2 separate regions of the Homo sapiens genome follow, and region 2 is linked to region 1. The links are contacts of gene promoters, found by promoter capture Hi-C in blood cells and fetal thymus (Javierre and others, 2016). All regions are on one chromosome and are shown on one strand. The core of a region is centred on a gene start or on the middle of the fragment in contact, and the rest is flanking DNA. Distances in the headings are between cores, read along the strand shown. Region 1 holds the start of ZSCAN30 (zinc finger and SCAN domain containing 30). Region 2 has its middle 9.0 kb from the start of MAPRE2.

Evidence for each region. Contacts are between HindIII fragments. The CHiCAGO score rates a contact against its expected background, and 5 or more counts as called.
Region 2: a fragment that was not itself captured here is called in contact with the fragment with the promoter of ZSCAN30 in region 1 in 5 of 17 cell types (fetal thymus, non-activated CD4 T cells, naive CD4 T cells and 2 more); the score reaches 9.9 in fetal thymus.

What each region holds. Positions count from the first base shown.
Region 1 is chr18:35,288,609-35,291,733 of GRCh38, forward strand. It overlaps ZSCAN30 (zinc finger and SCAN domain containing 30), which reads right to left and starts at 1,621. Exons shown (of 4, transcript NM_001112734.4): 1 at 1,476-1,621. It also overlaps the pseudogene ZNF271P. RefSeq lists an enhancer at 1,738-1,897. The HindIII fragment of the contact is 2,453 bases long and covers 65-2,517 here.
Region 2 is chr18:35,030,806-35,033,930 of GRCh38, forward strand. It overlaps a transcript of MAPRE2 not described here. Among named protein-coding and RNA genes, the nearest start is that of MAPRE2, 9.0 kb to the right of the region's middle. The HindIII fragment of the contact is 1,544 bases long and covers 803-2,346 here.

The DNA.
Region 1 (3,125 bases), core at 371-2,870:
TATTATTCAGCAACAAAAATTAACTATTGATACACACAGCAATAAAGATAAATCTCAAAATAAAAGCTTAGTGAAACAACTCTGACAAAAACAAGGACATTCTGTATGATTCCATTTAAATAAATATCTAGAAAATGCAAACTAATCTCTAGTAACAGCTGACCAGTGGAGGGGGCATTGGGAGAGAGGCTTACCAACGGGCAGGAGGAAACTTTTGGGGTTTAGATGTAATAAACATATTATTTTGATTGCAGTGATAGTTCCACAGCTGTATTCATTTAACAAGCCTTATCAAATTATATCCTTTAAATATTTGCTGTTTATGTCAGTTATACCTCAATAAAGCTGTTTTGTTTTGTTTTGTTTTGTTTTGTTTTGAGACAAAGTCTCGCTTTGTCACCCAGGCTGGAGTGCAGTGGCGCAATCTCGGCTCACTGCAACCTCCGCCTCCTGGGTTCATGGGTTCACGCGATTCTCCTGACTCGGCCTCCCAAGTAGCTGGGATTAAAGGCGCACACCACCATGCCCAGCTAATTTTTGTATTTGTAGTAGAGACAGGGTTTCACCTTGTTGGCCAGGCTGGTCTCCAACTCCTGATCTCAGGTGATCCACCTGCCTCAACCTCCCAAAGTTTTAGGATTACAGGCCTAAGCTGCGCCTGGCCAAAAAGAAAGCTGTTTTTTTAAAACTATCTGCACTCCCTACTTGGGAGGGTTGGACTCAAGTTCCCACATCTCTTTCCTCTTACGGTTATATTAAGGGCTTAGTCATACATCCCTAAATTTCATATATCCCAACAGGGACTTGGGCTGGGACAGGAAGCCCTCTTCCTCCACCTCAACTACCACTTAGCCACCCACCATTTTCTCAAACCTCTTCCTTTCCCCACCGGACAGCTTAAACCAAGTCACACGTCTCATTGGTCTCAACAGAAATGAGGTCCCAACTCCTCATTTCCCAAGATATTTCCATGAACACAGCAATATCCTTTCCTACCCTGATTACCCCGCACCCTCCATTTCGGGTCCTTCTCACCCTGATCAGTGAGAATTGTTCTAGCAAGCAAACCTTAAATAGACCTCGTACCCTTTCTAGATTGCAAAGTAGATAAAAATCCAACTTTCCGTTAATTCAGGGATTAATTACTGAGCATCACTTATTTCTTGGGCAGTGGTTCTCAAAATGTGGTCCCAGGACCAACAGCTTCAGGATCACCTGAGAACCTGGGCTGCCACCGCCCCCTCCCCCACTACTAAATCAGCAACTCCGGAGTTGTGGGGCAGAAGTCAGTATTTTAACAAGGCCTCCAGGTGATTCTGATGCGCGCTACTCTTCTGGGGGTGTGAAAAACCAGAGAGGACAGGAAGAAAGTTAGAATTAAAGCATACCTACGAATCAGATAAGCGATAGGGGGAGGGGTGGTTATTTAAAAAACGATAACTAATTAAGAACTTGTATGTAGTAAGAAAACCTACCCTGCCCCAGAGAGCTTTCCCGAAAGATAATGGATTCCGACATTCACCTCAAGAACCGGCAGACAGAGCAGCAAAGGATCTGTCGCTGGCCAAGCAGGTCCCTGGCTAAGGCACTGCTAGGGACAGCTCGCGGCGGTTCGGGGGTTAATTCTCGGCAGCCCTCCGTCACCCGGTGCCCCACCCCCGCCCTGCGCCTGCGCGGTGAAGCGCCATAGAGCTGAGCACTCCTCCCAGATTCCTAGAGCGGACAGGGCGATGGCAGGTTCGCCGGGTGTGAGGCTTCACAGCGGTCCGGTGACCAAGTCGAGGTAAGGGTGATGTCGGCTCGCGGATAGCAGAGGAGTTCCGGGTGATCTTGCCTAACGAGCAGGAAACTGTGCATGGTTTCTCGAGTCCTTGGAGAGTGAAGGCCCCCGGGGTCGCTCCCGGGCACGGAGAGACGATTGGTTCACGGCCTAGTGTTCGGTTTGTTCCCAGTCAGCCCTTGCTGGCCTTGGGTTCAACCGAATGAACGCCAGAAACTCTGTGGGGTGGGGGGAGTCACCAACCGTGGTGCATCCATACGAATCAGCCTACCGTACTGGGAAAGAGCCACCTGAATTTGTGAATGTTGTAAAAGCAAAAGGAAGAAAAATGATCAGTAGTGTCATTTTTGGATAGGAAGGGCAGCGAATAACATAGTGTTAACCACTAGAATTCACTGTAAAATTCCCCTCTCTGCGTTATCTTTCCAGTTATACCTTTTTTTGGTAGCATTAACCCCTAATTTTGTTTGAACATCTCTAGACTTGGAATGGGGAATGTGTGTCTTAAGTGGGTTAATCCCTGGCTCTTGGATGATGGGGAGGAAGCCTAATACATTCTGAGAGAAAAGCAACTGGAAGTCAAATGAGATTTTTTGTTTTCTCCTTCTTTTATATCTTGAGGATTTTTCTGGTGGTCTAGTCTCAGAGATTACATCTGTAGTCAGCACAATGATTCCCTTCCAAGCCCAGTGGTGCCCAGTTGCCTCCAGGTCCCAGACCTTTATGTGGACAAGAAAAGCTTACAGAGGAAATGGTAATTCTCCACTTGCACACTGAGGTGTCCAGTTGCAGCCCATGGAGATCCAGTTCAATTATGAATCTCAGGAACACCACCTTCTGTCAGGTGAGAGGCAGGGTATTATATCTTTCTTAGTGGCTTTGGCGGGGTGGGGAGGATGAGGGGGTGTCACTCTATGCTAGTGTCTTCAAATGATCCCCCTTAACTCTGTTAGGCAGTATTACCTCTTTAGTGTACCAAGCATAGTCACATGACTTTATTTCAAAATCTGGCGATCAAATTCTCATGCAGCTCTCTCCACTTTTTTAAGACCCCAAAGTCATTCATTTTTCCCTGTATAATGACCTCATTGCTAATCTGTCAGTTTTGGTCATTTTTCTTATCTACTGTAGGGGCATAGTTAAAAGTTCTGGAGTCTGACAACCTAGATTCAAACAGTAGTTTTGTCACTTAACTGGCTCCAGTAAGTTACTCATATATTTTACGATTCTGTTTCCTCACTTTTCAAGTGCATAGTACTTCATACCTTGAAGTTATTTTGAGATTTGTATCTATGTATTACTCCAGAATAAAGAACCCCAAAATTTAGTGACCTAAAACATCAGA
Region 2 (3,125 bases), core at 325-2,824, 260 kb before region 1:
TCTCTCCCATCCCCACAATACGCACACATTCACACTCACTGTGCTACATACATGTGACCTGACTTCCTTAATGTTTCTTGAACAAATCATGCTCCTACCTCAGGGCCTTTGCACTTTCTGTTGGCTCTACCTGAAATATTCTTCTGATATCACAGGTCTATGTCCCTCACCTCTCTCAGGTCATCGATTAAAGATTATCTTTTCAGGAATGTCTACCCTGGTCACCCCATTTAAAATTACAACACCCTTCCTCTGCAGTCCAAGTCCTCCTTCCTTGCTTTAGTTGTCTCTATAGCATTTGCCACCATCTGACACACTACATATTTTACTTATATATTGTCTGTCTCCTGACCCTACCACATACACTTGCTCATACACTCAAGTGTAAGTTCAGGGAATTTTGTCTACAAATTTCTGCATCTCTGATGTCTAGAATTGTTCCTAGCACATAGTAAGTTCTCAATAAATATTTGTAGAATGAATGATTGAGGACTAATTAAAATATTACTATCTTAATGAAGCTTTTCTAGTGTCCCCAGGCCTGACTACTTTCTTTTCTATATTCCTAATACTTAATACACTTTTCATTATAACTTTTATCACATTGTATTTTTATGGAAAACACATTTAAAGCTCTTAAATTTAGCCAGATGGTATAATTCAAAAGTACATTTTTGTTTAATAGACTGAAACCTCACATTGTACAGATTTGATTGAATGATTACAGAAATCATAATGCTCTGAGTATTTTTAAATTGCATTCACATCATGTTCTATGAGTTATTCTACAAAATTAAATCCAAGCTTGAGAAAATCTAAGAAAAAGCAGATTAGAAATAAATTCCAACACAGAGAGAAATCTTGTCTCATGCAATGGCATGTTCTGTGTTTTCACATCATGGACACCTTGCTATTTTGCTAGCAAGTATGAGACTTAAAAATTCTGCCTTTTGAGCATAAATAATCTGCAAAGACAAGTAATCTCAAAAGTCAATTCTAGAGGAGCATACCTGTGCATGTTGGTTTTGAAGAGGCTTTCTTCATCTGGAGGAAAACATTATTCACCAATTTTTTTTAAAATAAAATGCTATTACTTAAGGCCAGGAGGTATTTGCATGTCATGGAAATTTCACCAGATCCAGAAGAACTAATAAAATCTTCCTATGCCTCTGGGTGAAAGGTAGTGAGGAAGAACCAATCTCAAATACATTTCTGTGCCACCAGTGCAATTTCAGTGCCGGTACCACTGGCTGGCCAACCATATACTTTTTCACTGCTATCATTTTGGGTGTGGAGCATATATTTCAGCCATTGATAACTACTGTACCTGCCATTCCCTACTGGAAAATATCTTAAAATATACACATGGGGGAAATGGCTTGTCCTGAGCCAGCAGAGGTGACTGCTAAGTGGAATCTTCTGTCTGTATTTGAGGTGATAATGATCTAAGGAAGCCCCGATCTAAGGTGATGTGACAGCTGTGAATGCCTTTGACAGCAGTGATTATCAGCTTCAGTGAACACATTTTTAACCTGAAAAAAGGCATTCATGTGATGAGTAGGTGTTTCTGGGATTGAGTCAAGATTAACATTCATTCCTGGCTAGGGAATTCATGTCTTCTCTGCTATCATAGTTGAGAATTTCTCAAGTCCAAGGCAATGCAAAAATCCCTGTTCTAGATGAACCATATGTGTTGGAGAAGTGGAGGGATGATGATTTCTGTCAATACAGAATTATTTGTACTCTCTGGCCTAAGTTCTAAGAGAAACATGATTGTGCTATAAGCTAGGGACTCGAAATTAAAATTCGAGTTAATGCCAGGGTTCAGTCTTCCTCAATTGCACCTGTGTGCTGGGACCTCTTCCTGGGTTTTTTTTTGTTTTGTTTTTTTGTTTATTTTTGGCTCCCTGTTCTCATGCTTCCAGCTCTGTATCCTCTGGGTCCATTTTAGAAATCCAGCTCTCCAAACAGGCACTTTAAACATTTGTTTGTTTGTTTGTTTGTTTTTTATTTTTGGTGGATCTAGACCTCAAGAGGGGCCTGAAAGTAGGATCAATTCATCTGATGCCTAACAGTTGGTCATTAATTAACATATCCTTCCTGTATTGCTGGGAGCTTTTTAGTACAGATAGTTGCTGATTCCCATTAGTTGCAGATACGTTAGATACACCCTTGATTTAGTATATCTCTTCCTGGAATATCTTGCTTCAGTCATAAAATTCATGTTTTTATGAAAAATTGCAGTGGTCACCAAAAAAGAGAATTTTAGACCAATATCCTTGATGAACATTGATGCAAAAATCCTCAATAAAATACTGGCAAACTGAATCCAGCAGCACATCAAAAAGCTTATCCACCATGATCAAGTGGGCTTCATTCCTGGGATGCAAGGCTGGTTCAATATACGCAAATCAATAAATGTAATCTAGCATATAAACAGAACCAAAGACAAAAACCACATGATTATCTCAACAGATGCAGAAAAGGCCTTTGACAAAATTCAACAACCTTCATGCTAAAAACTCTCAATAAATTAGGTATTGATGGGACGTATCTCAAAATAATAAGAGCTATCTATGACAAACCCACAGCCAATATCATACTGAATGGGCAAAAACTGGAAGCATTCCCTTTGAAAACTGGCACAAGACAGGGATGCCCTCTCTCACCACTCCTATTCAACATAGTGTTGGAAGTTCTGGCCAGGGCAATTAGGCAGGAGAAGGAAATAAAGGGTATTCAAATTAGGAAAAGAGGAAGTCAAATTGTCCCTGTTTGCAGATGACATGATTGTATATCTAGAAAACCCCATTGTCTCAGCCCAAAATCTCCTTAAGCTGATAAGCAACTTCAGCAAAGTCTCAGGATACAAAATCAATGTACAAAAATCACAAGCATTCTTATACACTAATAACAGACAAACAGAGAGCCAAATTATGAGTGAACTCCCATTCACAATTGCTTCAAAGAGAATAAAATACCTAGGAATCCAACTTACAAGGGATGTGAAGGACCTCTTCAAGGAGAACTACAAACCACTGCTCAAGGAAATAAAAGAGGATACAAACAAATGGAAGAACATTCCATGCTCATGGGTAGGAAGAATCAATATCGTGAAAATGGCC